Linked DNA regions of Homo sapiens: regions 1, 3, 4 and 5 are each linked to region 2. The links are contacts of gene promoters, found by promoter capture Hi-C in human tissues and cell types (Jung and others, 2019). All regions are on one chromosome and are shown on one strand. Each heading gives the region's core, a stretch centred on a gene start or on the middle of the fragment in contact. The rest is flanking DNA. Distances are from core to core; before and after follow the strand shown.

Region 1 (2,700 bases), core at 80-2,579, 250 kb before region 2:
GTTGGGCAGGCCTGAGGGCTTCTTGTGTTTGGCCATAATGGATGTGTCTGGGACCTGGACCTTGGCCTCCTGCGCCCCAAGCTCTGGCCCGCAGAGCCCACCACCTGGAAGCCAGAGCCCACCCATAGCAAGGCCTCTGTCTGTGAAGACCCCTCCCCTCCTTGCTACTTGGTTATTCTCTGGCCTCAGTCTCTGCTTGGTTCTCTAGTCAGGGTGAGCTTTTGGTGGATGTGAAGGGAGACCAGGGTCCTTTCCTGCTCCTAGTGAGAACCGTGGGATTTGCGGCCTGACAGGTTACATTCCTTTCCGGGCTGATGTCCCAGCTGTGTTTGCAGGAAACAGTGAAGGTCGACGTGTGCCTTTTTATGGCACCGAATAACCTGGACCTGCGACAGGAACCGTGAGCGTCTTTCTGTCCCCTAAAAGTATTTGGATACTAATTGACTGTTTGGTCCTGCAGAGATGACACAGGGACGTCTTCACGCCCAGATGCATTTGCAGCTATGCGGTCCTCCCGCCTCCCGCTTCAGGCCTCTCCCATCTCCCCTGGGTTTCCACACAGTGTCGCAGCTTCACCTCGAGAGGGCCACGTGATTGGCGGCACTGGGGATGCCTGAGCCCTTGATCCCTCTGCTGGGGTCCAGGGCGTGGGTGTGCATCCCTGGAGCGTGTGTGCTCTGGGCGTGGGTGTGCGTCCCCGGAGCGCGTGTGCTCTGGGCGTGGGTGTGCATCCCCGGAGCGTGTGTGCTCTAGGCGTGGGTGTGCGTCCCCGGAGCGTGTGTGCTCTGGCCTTCCCTGCCCAGCTCCTATGGCTCCTCCTTTCCCTAGGTTGGGCAGAATCTCCCAGGTGTGCTGCTGATGGACAGGCTGAGAGCGTGGAGCCCACGAGGGCGCTTTGGTTTAGAATCATCTCATTGGTTTGCCCACGTTAAGCTCCTATAAAATCTAGGGGAAAAAAAATAAACATTCTTTTTGGGTTCAGAAAAATCTCTTGGCTGTTTTCTTCCCAGTAATGTGTATTTCAAGGACGAAGTCGAGAGGGAATGAAAACAGAACGATTGGCTCTCAAAAGCCTGGTTCAGGAGCAACTGGGAGTGGTCTCTAGACTGCTTGAGCTATTAATTATTTTGCTTTATTTATTAGATGTACCCAGCGTCCCTTTGCCTCCAAGCATATTTGCAAATGCCTTAAGGGAAAAAGAAAAACAAATGATTCCTGCCATCAGAGTCTCCAGCCCTTAATGAATAACACCGTGTAATCACGCTGAATGGAAAAAGCCCAGTACGGCATCACGTGCACGTCCTGAGTCTAAGTCGTCACAGTCGTAAATGCACGGGACCCACGGAAGCTCAGAAACTCGTAACAGCTGTGAGATCTGTTCAGTGGAATTTTTCTTAATTTCCCTGGGAAATCCACAAGGTCACTCCATATGACTAAGAAAAAATTAAAACAGAAACAGCACTCAAAGGCCTGGTACATTCTCTCCTCCTACCTGCCGCGGATTGTTGCCCGCCCGCCACGGCCCCCACCCCGCCCCCACGGCTGGCAAAGGAACAGAAGAAAGGCCGGGCCTGGTTATCTTTTCCTAAACCGTGCTGGTAATCAACCTGAAGGATGTGCCTGCCCGCTTCCTCCCAGTGATTTACACCTTCCCTAATTAGCCGTGATGTTGCAGATCGGCAGAGTTAATCGCCGGAGCGGAGACCCTGCCTTCCCAGTTCCCAGCAGCTCTGGCTCTGGGAGTGTGCCGCCCATGCCGCGAGGAGCTGCGATTCATCCCCGCCCCGCTTGGCCCTGTATTTTCCGGCCTTGCTGCTCCCAGTCCCTCTGGCTGGAAAAGCCAGGCTGTCTCGGTGCATGCGGGATGTCGGCGCTCCCGAGCTCGACCGTGACCATGGGGCAGGTTCTAGGCCTGGGATGGCAGAATCCGGCCGGCTGTGCGCCCATCACTTAACATTGCCACTTATGTCAGAAATGGCAGCTTGAGCCTAATAGAGCCAGCTTCCCGTGGGCCCCCCTCAGCATCCAGGCCTCTGAAAAGCTTAGGGGTCCCACCCCGGCAGCAGAAGGCACCGCAGTCGCCGAGGCTTTATTGCTCTGCCTCTTCGAACTGGCAGCCGCATCAATCGCCCTCCCGTGCACAGCCGGCTGGGCTCTGCGAGCAGACTCCAGAGCTGGGTCTGGCTGCCTCTGTGGTCAGCGGGAAGCTGGCAGAGTCCAGCCTCTCGGCTGGATGAGTCCAGTACCGCCGTGTGCACATGTGTGTGTGATGCTAATTATGCCAGACGTGCTTCAGTTTTGCTGGGAACAGTTAGCTTACTGTGCATTTTAGAAACTGCCAGGATTTTAGAGCCTAATGGGGTTCCTAGAGATCGTAGCGTCCAGCCAACTCATCGCCGTCTCACAGGTGGGGGAAGGAAGGTGCGGAGAGCTCTCTCTCCTCCGTCACCCCCATCCTGCTGCGTGCCAGGCCCTGTGGGGCAAGGGTTGCAGAGATGGCTGAGACATCACCCTTGCCTGGGGGACCAAGACACACCAGTGGGTTGCAGATGCTGGGAAGGGGCCAGGTGGAGGGATGAGGCGTCAGGGAAGGTGGTCTCTGCCTCGTTGGAGTCAGAGACCCGGAGGTGGAGGCTGCTGCTCCACACGGACCCCTTCCCATCCCATCCCCTCCTCAGCCTTGTAATCTGTGTGACCTGC
Region 2 (2,711 bases), core at 134-2,633:
TTTTTTGTGGTACTTGGCTTTTTATTATTTTATTATTGTTTGTTTTTTTGACACAGGGTCTTGCTCTGTCACCCAGGCTGGAGTGCAGTGGTGTGATTGCAGCTCACTGCAGCCTCTACCTCCTGGACTCCAGCAATCCTCCTGCCTTGGCCTCATATATATATATATGTGTGTGTATATATATATATATATACATATATATATGTATATATATATGTATATATATATTATATGCAGTCTTGCTTTGTCACCCAGGCTGGAGTGCAGTGGTGCGATCTCAGCTCACTGCAACTTCCACCTCCTGGGTTCATGCAATTCTCCTGTCTCAGCCTCCCAAGTAGCTGGGATTACAAGCATGCACCATCATGCCTGGCTAATGTTTGTATTTTTAGTAGAGATGGGGTTTCGCCATGTTGGCCAGGCAGGTCTCGAACTCCTGACCTCCAGTGATCCGCCCGCCTCAGCCTCTCAAAGTGCTGGGATTACAGGCGTGGGCCACTGAGCCTGGCCCCATATTTGGCTTTTTAAAAACCTATGTCTGTATTGTCTACAGCCTGGGCAGATCTGTCAGGGAGGTGTTGGGTGGAAAATGGAAAGGATGGAAGGGAGAGGGAGAGGCTGACACAGCCAGCTGGAGGGGCGGGCAGGGGAGGGGAGCCATGGGAGCCAGCGGGGAGCCCGCCACACTCCCCTCCTCCTGAAGCCTTCTGGGGTTGCTGCCCTGGCTGTGGCCACGGGTTTAAGGACCCCCCTGGTCATTTTTCTTTGTCCCGGATCTGTTGCTACCAACGGTGAGGATTCCTAATGGTCCCCTTGGCTCTGTCCTGTGCCTGGAGCAAGGACCTCTCCCCTTTATCCTGCACGACACGGCTCTGTGCCATCTGGTTTCTCAGGCCCTCCCACCCCCAGGCCCCGTCACAGGGCAGTACTCACCGGTGACCAGGGTGAAGTGGCAGGGGCTGGTCATGGTGACAAAGGCGGGGGTCATGTAGCGTGCCTTCACCCCGTCTCGGGCCATGGCGTCCAGGTTGGGGGTGTCCACGTCCTGGTCGTAGTTCCAGCGGAAGCCGTCGAAGGACACCAGGAGCAGCTTGTTCTGGGAGCCCTGACTTTGTACCGGTGCTCCGGCCCCGGGAGCCAGGAGCGTGGCCAGAGCCACAGTGAGGAGGACGGCCGGGCCTCTCATGCTGGGCCTTCCAGATGGACAGGCACACAGGGTGCACAGGGCTGGCTCCTGCCGAGGAGGACAAAGTCCCAGGGTCACCCGGGCTGATCTCATCCCGTGCGCCTTTGGAATGTGGCTGTGCACATCCCCGGGTCGAACCTCGGGAGTGGGCTCCCCAGCCGTGTCAGTGCCACCCCTGGTCCCAGCCTCACGTGCGTGGGGTGGCATCAACTTGAGCATCTGCCTTTATTGCCAGCCGCGCCCTTGGTGCTCCAGGCTCCTCCCCTCCCTCCCCAGAGTGGGGACAGTGACCCAGGGCTCAGAGCACAGCAGGAGCCCATTCCACTGGGAAAGTCGTGCCCTCTCCCTCTCCCATAGCAACAGGTGGTCCCTCTGTCCCAGCTCACCCTGACCCCAGGGGACCCAGGTGAGGCTGGGGTGGGACCCCCTCTCCAGGCCTTTAGTGGTGCATGGGCCTCAGGCCTGCCTGGGTGAGGGCCTGTGGGGTGGGCTTCCCATGGTCAGGGCCAGGACCAAGCCTGGGTCACAGCATGGCCTTGTCCGGGGGGAACCCCAGGCTGGGTGCCTGTTCTCCTCCTGGTCCTGTTAAGGGGCTCCTTGAGCGTGGTGAGCAGACCGGGAACCGGATGGCTCCAGACCAGCGTCCTGTGGGCCTTCCTTCTTGGGATGCTTCCTTCTTGGGATGCTTCCTTCTTGGGAATTTCAGAGGGTGCCTGGGGCTCGGACGTTCTTGCTTGATGACAACAAGGGGTCAGAAGAGGGGGACTCCCTTGTTACCATAGGCACATGAAGGGTGGGAGAGGAACCCCTGGATTCAGTGTGCGGTTCTCCCTCCCTCTCCCCCATCTCTCCTTCCCCTTCTCTTATTTTCTCTCTCTTTCTCTGTCTCTCTCCCTCTTTCCTTCCCTGTATGTCTCTGTCTCAGTTCCTATTAAGCACGTTCTGTGTGCCAGGCATGGTTCTAGGTTCTGGGGACACAGAAGTGAATGAGACAGACAATGTTCCTCGTGGCCTCCATTCGAGTTGGGGACACAGAAGATAAAATGAACAAACAAGAAAAAAAGAGTTTCCCAAAAGAAGGGAAGGCAGGAAGACGTGATGGAGAGGCTGGCGGGGTGGGTGGGCGGCACGCAGTGGTGGCTGGTGGGGTTTCGCTGAGAGGATGGTGGAGGCCAGTGACTCTGGGGGACCATGAGCTAGGGGAGCGGGCATGGGGCAGGTGGCAGGGGTGGCAGGGCCAGTCCCGTAGGGCAGGTGGCGGTGATTCTCATGCCAGGCAGTGGAAGCCAGGCGGGGGTTTTAAGCAAGAGAGTGACATGAACTGATCTAATGCTAAAATATACTCTCCATTTGTGGGTGAAGGATAGACCAGAACGAGGGCAGAATGGACACTGGGTGCTCCCTGGAGAGGTGACTGCCTGTGTCTGAGCAAGAGCTATTGGTGGCCCGGACCAGGGTGGTGGCTGTGGGATGGGGCTGGGTTTGAGGCGGATCCTGGAGGTTTTGCTGGGAGGTGGTGCGCTGG
Region 3 (2,741 bases), core at 213-2,712, 230 kb before region 2:
CGAACTCCTGACCTCAGGTGATCCGCCCACCTCGGCCTCCCAAAGTGCTGGGGTTACAGGCATGAGCCACCATTAATTTTTGTATTTTTAGTAGAGATGGGATTTCATCATGTTGGTCAGGCTGGTCACAAACTCCTGACCTCAAGTGACCTGCCCACCTCAGCCTCCCAAAGTGCTGGAATTACAGGCATGAGCCACCGCGCCTGGCCTGGAAGCTATTGTTTAATAGGTATAGAGCTTTTGTTTTACAAGATGAAAAGAGTTCTGGAAATGGAAGGTGATGATCATTGTACAATATTAGAAATATATTTAATACCTGAACTGTACATTTAAAAATGGTTGAGATGGGGCCGGGTGTGGTGGGTCACACCTGTAATCCCAGCACTTTGGGAGGCAAGGTGGGCGGATCACCTGAGGTCAGGAGTTTGAGGCCAGCTGGCCAACATGGTGAAACCCCATCTCTACTAAAAATACAAAAATTAGCCAGGCGTGGTGGCGGGTACCTGTAATCCCAGATACTTGGGAGGCTGAGGCAGGAGAATTGCTTGAGTCCGGGAGGTGGAGGTTGCAGTGAGCCAAGATCTTGCCACTGCACTGTAGCCTGGCCAACAGAGTGAGATGACTCTGTCTCAAAAAAAAAAAAAAAAAAAAAAAAAAAATAGGTTGAGATGGTAAATTTGATGATAAGTATTTTTTAACACAATAAAATAATTGGAAAAAGGAAAAAAGTTGCATCTGCTTTGCATCACTCTAGATTTGTTTGCCTTTTCTAGAATTTTATGTAAATGGGATCATGCAGTATGTGCTTGTTTTTTGTCCTGCTTCTTTCAATCAGCATAATAATTTTGTCATGCGTCCATGCTACTGCGTGTTACAGCTGAGTAGTATGCCATGGTATGTACAGACCACGATTCATTACTGCATTGGCTGTTGATAAACCCTGGGTTGTTTTCAGTTCTTATCTATTTTATTTTATTATTTTTATTTTTATTTTTTTGAGATGGAGTTTTGCTCTTCTTGCCTAGGCTGGAGCGCAGTCTCGTGATCTTGGCTCACTGCAACCTCTGCCTCCAGGGTTCAAGCAAGTCTCCTGCCTGAGCCTCCCGAGTAGCTGGGATTATAGGCGCCCGCCACCACGTCTGGCTGATTTTTTGTATTTTTGGTAGATACAGTGTTTCACCATGTTGGTCACACTGGTCTCAAACTCCTGACCTCAGGTGATCCACCAGCCTCGGCCTCCCAAAGTGCTGGGATTATAGGCGTGAGCCACTGTGCCTGGCCAGTTCTTAGCTATTTTAGATAAAGCTGTTACACACATTTATGTGCAAGTCTTTGCACGTGGACATATGTTTTTATTTCTCTTGGTAAATACTTGGGAATGGAATAACTGGAAACAGGCATGTGTTTAATTTTTAAGAAATTACTGAACTGCTTTCCTAAAGTGGTTTGCCGTGTTGCATTCCCACCAGCAGTCCGTGAGAGTTCCAGTTCCTCCATGTCCTCAGCAACACTTGCTATGATCAGTCTTGTCCACTGTAGCCATTCTAATAGGTGAGTAGGAGTATCTCATTGTGGTTTTAATTTGCATTTTCCTGACTACAGAGGATGCTGAGTATCTTCTCATGTAGCCTTTTGTGTCTGGCTTCTTTCACTTAACATAATACAACTGAGATGCTTCCATATCGTCATGCATATCAGCAGTTTGCTCCTTTTTATTGCTGAGGCGTATGTATTCCCTTGTTAAGATGTACCATTGTTTGTTTAGCCATTCACCAGCTGAAAGACGTTTGTGTCATTTCCTGTTTTCTGCAATGATGAATAAAACTGCTATAAACATTCACACACAGATTTCGTGTGAACATTTTCCATGTATTTTGGGTAAATACCTAGGGGGCATTGCTGAGTCATATGGTAGGGGTGTGTGTGACTTTATAAGACACTGCCAAACAGTTCTCCAGAGTGGTTCTGTCATTTGACTTCCCGTCACATTGTAGGAGAGTTCTGTTGCTCGCCTCCTGGCCAGCACTCACAGTGTCAGTTTCATTCCTTCGTTTTTTTTTTTTTTTTTTTTTTTTTTTTTTGGGTTTTTGTTTTTTGGGTTTTTTTGAGACAGAGTCTCACTCTGTCGCTCGGGCTGAAGTGCAGTGGCATGATGTTGGCTCACTGCAACCTCGCCTCCAGGGTTCAAGTGATTCTCCTGCCTCAGCCTCTGGAGTAGCTGGGATAACAGAGGTGCACTGCGATGCCTACTAATTTTTTGTATTTTTAGCAGAAACGGGATTTCGCCATGTTGCCCAGGCTAGTCTTGAACTCCTGAGCTCAGGTGACCCACCCGCCTCAGCTTCCCAAAATGCTGGGATTACAAGCTTGAACTGCCTTGCTCGTGGCCTCATTCATTTGTTTTTTAGTCATTCCAATAGATGTGTAGTGGATCACATCATGTTCCTTTAGATTGCATTGAGGTTTCTTTCTATTTGCATTTCTCTAATAATGAATGCTGTCGAGCACCTTTTCATAGGCTTCTTGGCCATCTGAATATCCTCTTTGGTGAAATGTCTTTTCAAATCTTTTGCCCATGTTTGGATTGTGTTTTCTTATTACTGTTTTGAGGACCTTTTCTATATTCTGTATAGAATGATGATTTAAAGCATATTACTGACTTATATGATAAGCCCTTTATCATATAAGCATTTGGCAAATATCTTTTTCCCAGTCTGTGGCTTATCTTTTTATTTTCTTAA
Region 4 (2,700 bases), core at 172-2,671, 140 kb before region 2:
GACCCTGTCTCAAAAATAACATAAAATGAAAATAAAAGGGGGACAGGTTAAAGAACCTACATGGAAGTAAGGCTTCCACATTCACTGCAGGTGGTAAAATGCTACCCGTGTACCTTGTAATAACCAGAGCGACCACTAGGGAAGTGATACAAAGAAACGCCCTCTAGATGACTATAAATCAACCAAGATGAACCTCAATCCTAATGTTCAAGGAATCCACAGAAAAGCAAGAAAACATACACAGAGAAAACAAATCCTTAAATGGCAGACCTAAGTCCTAACATATTGATAATTTTCTTTAAAGGTAAATGAAATACACCAAGTAAAAAGCAAGAGATTGGCAGTCTATTTTTTGAAAAACAACCTAACCATACACTGTTTACAAGAAACTCGCTTCAAATTCAATGGTGACATTTCACCAAAGAGAATATACAGATGGCAAGTGAGCACATGAAAAGCTGTCCAACACCATGAGCCATGGGGGGAATGCAAATTAGAACCACAGTGAGATACCATCAACACCTATCAGAAATTAAAAATAGTGGCAACGCCAAATGCTGGTGGGGATGCACAGAAATAGGATCACTCAGAAAATGCTACCGGGGGCCAGGCGTGGTGGCTCACGCCTGTAATCCCAGCACTCTGGGAGGCCAAGGCGGGTGGATCACCTGAGGTCAGGAGTTCGGAACCAGCCTGGCCAACATGGTGAAACCCTATCTCTACAAAAATTAGCTGGGCATGATGGCGGGTGTCTATAATCCCAGCTACTCGGGAGGCTGAGGCAGGAGTGTTGCTTGAACTGAGGAGGTACAAGTTGCAGTGAGCCAAGATCGTGCCATTGCACTCCAGCCTCGGCGACAGAGCAAAACTCCGTCTCGAAAAAAAAAAAAAAGAAAAAAACAAGAAAAAGAAACTGCTACTGGTCCTGTCACATGGTGCAGCCCCTCTGGAAAACAATTTGGCAGTTTCTTATAAAACTAAACACACAATTGCCATAAGACCCAGCAACTGTGCTCTTGGCCATTTATCCCAGAGAAATGGAAGCTTTTGTTCACATCAAAACCTATACACAAGGCTGGGCGTGGTAGATTACGCCTATAGTCCCAACACCCTGGGAGGCCGAGGCGGGAGGATTACTCAGTCAGGAGTTTGCGATCAGCCCAGGCAACATAGCAAGACCCTGTCTCTATAAAAAAACTTTAAAAATTAGCAGGGCGTGGTGGTGCACACTTGTAGTCCCAGCTACTCAGAAGGCTGAGTGGGGAGGATCACTTGAGCCTGGGAGTTTGAGGCTACAGTGAGCTGTGATTGTGCCACTACACTCCAGCCTGGGCGACAGAGCAAGACCCTGTCTCTAAAAAATAAAAATAAAAAATAAAAGAAGCTGCATACAAGTGTTCATAGCAGCTTATGCATAATAGCCAAAAACCAGAAACACCTGGTTGACCTTCAGTGGGCGAATGCTAAACATGCTGTCGTGCCTCCACGTCACGGATCGGGAAAAGGAACCCCGGACTGGGCCACACAAGACCTTGCAGGAATCTCCAGGGAATGATTTTGAGGGAAAAAGCCACTCCCAGAAGGTTACAAGGTGTATGATTCCGTTCACATAAGATTCTTGAAATAACAGACTTGGAGACTTGGAGGCAGATTAGGAAGAGGAAGGAGGTCGGTCCAGTTGCAAAAGAGTGATCCAGGGCGTCCTTGGGGTGCCGCAGCGTTCAGCGTTGTGACTGCGGTGGTGGATACAGGAAGCTACACAGGTCACAGAAAGGAAATACACACAAATGGGTACAAGCAGAAGGGAAACGTCAGTAAGATGGGTTCACCGGATCAATATCCACGTCTTGGTTGTAACATTGTACTCTAGTCTTACAAGACACCACCATGGGTGGGACTCTGGGTAGGGGACATAGATCCTTCTGTATTATTTCTTACAACAACAACATGTAAATAAACAATTATCTCAACATTAAAATGTTAATTTAAAAAATAAACAAAACCTACTCAGCACTTTGGGAGGCCAAGGTGAGCAGATTGCTTGAGCCCAAGAGTTTGACACCAGCCGAAGCAACAAAGTGAGACCCAGTCTCGAAAAGAGAGAAGAGAGGAGAGGGAAGGGGATGGGAAAGGAGGGGAAAGCAGGGGAGGGGAGGGAGGGGAGGGGAAAGCAGGGGAGGGGAGGGAGACAAAGAGACGAGAGGGGAGGGGACAGGAGGGGAGGGGAAGGGAGGAGAGGGGAGGGGAGGGATTAGCTGGGTATGGTGGCATATGCCTGTGGTCCCAGCTACTCGGGAGGCTGAGGTGGGAGAATCGCTTGAGCCTGGGAGGTCAAGCCTGCAGTGAGCCGTGATCATGCCACTGCACTACAGCCTGAGTGACACAGCAAGATTGTCTCAAATAAATAAATAAATAAAATCTAGTTCAAGCTTTCAAGCTGGTGTTTAAAAAAAGAAAAGAAAGAAACCGAACCAAACCATAACTGCCTCCTGACTGCCCTCACCTCCAGTTCTGCTGCCTGTGTGTGTGTGTCCGTCCATCTGTCTGTCCCACCAGCCACTGCTGCAGAAAGCTCCTGCCCTGTGTTTTCGAAGGCAGCTGTGCTGTGGTGGGGCTGGAATCAAAAGCCAGAGGCAGATGGGCACGTTTTCATCCTCCCTGCATCTTCCAGGGTGTGGACTTCGGCAAAGACTTCACATA
Region 5 (2,827 bases), core at 165-2,664, 210 kb before region 2:
CGTTTAAACATTTCGTCCTCCTGGTACACGAAGGGAACTGTCTGCCCAGGAGCCTGAGCCTCAGGCTGTTGGAGAAGCATCTGATGCCTTTTTCTTTGCTGGGGGTCTTCTACGTGAGGTTCCTTGGCGTTGTTTAAGGTCAACTCCACCAAATACAGCAACCAGCTGGGGCTTGAATGGGTCGATGTGTGCGTGTGTCCCTGCGTGCATGCATGCATGCACACGTGCGTGCGTGTTTGTGTTTGCAAGATCCTCTGACAATGATCTGCTTTGTCCCAGGGACGTGGTAGTGTATTAGCTGACCAACCAAGACAAGGACACCTGGAAATAGTTAGACTCTTCCACTTCCCTTCAGGACCTGTGAACTCAGATATGTAAGTCAGCTTCTCAGGTGGTCGGACGTGAGAGCGACCACAGTGAAGGAGCCAGCACTCAGGGCTCTCTGCCTTCTATGTGGGAATGAGGTCTTCCCAACAGACTCTCCCTCTTCCAAAAGATTGTGTATCAGTTGCTCCTTCTGGGATTTAGAGATGGACAGAAAAGGGTGTGCGATCTATGCTGTGAGAACTCCCAGCCAGCTTAGAAGTGTCGAGCCATTTGCACAGAAAGCCACTCCTTGAGCGAGGAGACCAAATCCCTCCTGAAATCCTCCATCGCGTCCTTCTGGGGAGAAAAACCCTTGATGTGCTGAGAACCATCATGGGGACCAGGATAGAAGGCTTCTTCCCACTCAAAGCTTTTCTCCCTGGAGGGTGGGCACTGCTGGGCCATGCCACTTCAAAGCAGTGTTCCTCAGCAGGAAAGCGGAGGTCACCACTTACCGGCCTCCTCCACCTTCTCGGCTTCTCTTTTCTCCATGAACCCAGGTCGTCCAGCAGGTACTTCCAAGTTCCCAGGTCTGTCTGCCTAAGAGCCTTTTGAGGAGACCGTCCTGGAGCCCCATCAGTGCCCAGATCCTGGGGTACCGACCATTGCTGTCTAGCAGTGGGGGATCCTGTGGTGGGAATGGGGTGGGCTTCTCATCCATGTTGCTTCTGGGAAGAGAGGGTTGCCTTTCTGGGCTAGGGAGGTGGCTGGAGCTTCTGCCCTGACCCTCCGCTAGAAACCAGTTATATCCATTGCCACAGCAATACTGTGTAACAAATCCGCCAACACTCGGTGGCCTGCAACAGTCAGCACTGATCTAGGGCAGGAGTCAGCAGTCTGGGCAGGGTGATTCTTCTGGTCTAGGCTGGGCTTGTTTGTTTAGGGCCAGTGGGTTGTTAAGTCCCAGGGGATGCTCATGGTGCAGAGGTCGGACCTGGCCCTGCTCTGTGGTCTCTTGCATCCCTCCTGCAGGCCAGCCATGGCACAGCCAAAGGCACGGAGGGAGAGACAGCAAGTGCCTTTCCAAGCCTTGGTGGACACCACACCTGCAGCTCTCCCCTTGGCCACAGCAAGTCACGTGGCTGGGCTCAGCATTAAGGGGTGGGGGACAGGCCTGCCACTTTATTGTCCGCTCTGCACAGTCGGGTGGCAGTAGGCTGAGAATTTGGAGGGCTAAACAACTGGGACTCTGGAGAGTCTGTGTCCTAATAATGCCTGCTTTGGAGCACTCCTTCCCCACCCGCCTGCTCCAGGGGAATAGCGTCCCTGGTCCTAGCATTTCACTAGATACCTCGTGCCTTTGAACCGCTGTGTTTGGGAGGGAGGAAGAGGATAGACAGGTCCAGGGCTCCCCTCACTTGGGAAGGTCCTAGTAGAAGGCATTCCTTCTGAGTCTCCTGGCCCTACAGCTTCTCACCCCTGCTGCTCCCCAAGACCTGACCCGGACCAATCAGCTGCATCTCTGCACCAAGTGCCACCCCCACCGTGCACTGCTCGCACCTCACGCTCCCCATGGGCTGGCCCGGACCCCAGTGAGGTCTGCACCTCTCGGACCAGCCAGGACCTCGGAAGCCATGAGCTGGGTGTTCAGGGCTTGGCGGAGGAGACGCTGCTCCGCGGGGGATGGAGAAGCCCCGCCCCTCCACAACTCCCTTAATCTGGATGCAATTAGAGGAAACCAGCCAAAAACCCCGCGGCAGCTGTTGCCCCGGGATTATTCCCAGCCAGCGAGAGGCATTAGGGCGATAATTCAGTCATTAGACTTCTAGCCTTCCCACCGCCAGAACGTGCAAATAGGGGATAATCAGCCCTGCACGGCCATCCTCAGCAATGCTGCTTATTTAACCCATTTTTTAAAATGACACTTAATGTTATTGGCTGGCGTACGTGTGTGCGCATACTTAAAAGTTGATGCGTGGTGCAGCTCTGCTGCTAATGTCTGCTGACAGCGTCGCCCGATGTTGCTCAGGGCCTCTGGGAAGAGGGGACACCTTTGATGTGGGCGTGCTGGCACCCAAGAGGCAACGTGGTCAGGCTCGATGCTTGCCAGCCCTGGAAGGTCCCGCCAGGGTTGGGGGGTCGGGTGAGCACTCAGAGATCTGGGGAGGAAGCGAGGAGCCTGGTGTCCTCACCAGGTGCAGAGGGGAAATGCGTACTGCTCCAGAAGGTTCTGACTCAAGTCTCGGCCCTGAGGACTCAGAACTCACAAGTCATGGATCAAGTACAGAGGGAGGGAGGGCCCCAGCCCACCCCTGCGGGGGAGGAGGAGGGTCTGAAGGTGGGAGGGCAGCTCCATGAGCAGCCACTGTTCCTGACCAGCCGAAGTGCCAGGCAGGGGGAGGTTTCCATGTCCAGGAGGGAGAGGACCTCCACCCTCTGACCTTTCAGTTTTCCATAGCAGCCCAGTGTGAAGCTCGGCGGGGGTGGGCAGGGCATCAGGACAAGATGAAGATGCTGGCTC

The links. Contacts are between HindIII fragments. The study calls those that stand out against the background at their distance.
Region 1: a fragment that was not itself captured here is called in contact with the fragment with the promoter of ENPP7 in region 2 in 3 of the 25 tissues and cell types used here (adrenal gland, dorsolateral prefrontal cortex and spleen).
Region 3: a fragment that was not itself captured here is called in contact with the fragment with the promoter of ENPP7 in region 2 in 1 of the 25 tissues and cell types used here (H1 embryonic stem cells).
Region 4: a fragment that was not itself captured here is called in contact with the fragment with the promoter of ENPP7 in region 2 in 2 of the 25 tissues and cell types used here (psoas muscle and spleen).
Region 5: a fragment that was not itself captured here is called in contact with the fragment with the promoter of ENPP7 in region 2 in 2 of the 25 tissues and cell types used here (lymphoblastoid cells and stomach).

What each region holds. Positions count from the first base shown.
Region 1 is chr17:79,977,289-79,979,988 of GRCh38, reverse strand. All of the region lies in intron 3 of TBC1D16 (TBC1 domain family member 16), which reads left to right. It overlaps LOC124904073 (a long non-coding RNA gene), which reads left to right. Exons shown (of 2, transcript XR_007065930.1): 2 at 461-987. Among named protein-coding and RNA genes, the nearest start is that of LINC01979, 52 kb to the right of the region's middle. RefSeq lists a silencer at 1,615-1,794. The HindIII fragment of the contact is 5,649 bases long and covers 1-2,700 here.
Region 2 is chr17:79,729,615-79,732,325 of GRCh38, reverse strand. It overlaps ENPP7 (ectonucleotide pyrophosphatase/phosphodiesterase 7), which reads right to left and starts at 1,383. Exons shown (of 6, transcript NM_178543.5): 1 at 934-1,383. The coding sequence starts at 1,186. RefSeq lists an enhancer at 2,584-2,711. The HindIII fragment of the contact is 31,927 bases long and covers 1-2,711 here.
Region 3 is chr17:79,960,120-79,962,860 of GRCh38, reverse strand. All of the region lies in intron 3 of TBC1D16 (TBC1 domain family member 16), which reads left to right. Among named protein-coding and RNA genes, the nearest start is that of LINC01979, 35 kb to the right of the region's middle. The HindIII fragment of the contact is 5,656 bases long and covers 1-2,741 here.
Region 4 is chr17:79,871,992-79,874,691 of GRCh38, reverse strand. No RefSeq gene overlaps it. Among named protein-coding and RNA genes, the nearest start is that of CBX4, 34 kb to the right of the region's middle. The HindIII fragment of the contact is 6,412 bases long and covers 1-2,700 here.
Region 5 is chr17:79,937,370-79,940,196 of GRCh38, reverse strand. It overlaps TBC1D16 (TBC1 domain family member 16), which reads left to right. Exons shown (of 12, transcript NM_019020.4): 12 at 1-2,827. Among named protein-coding and RNA genes, the nearest start is that of LINC01979, 12 kb to the right of the region's middle. The HindIII fragment of the contact is 9,876 bases long and covers 1-2,827 here.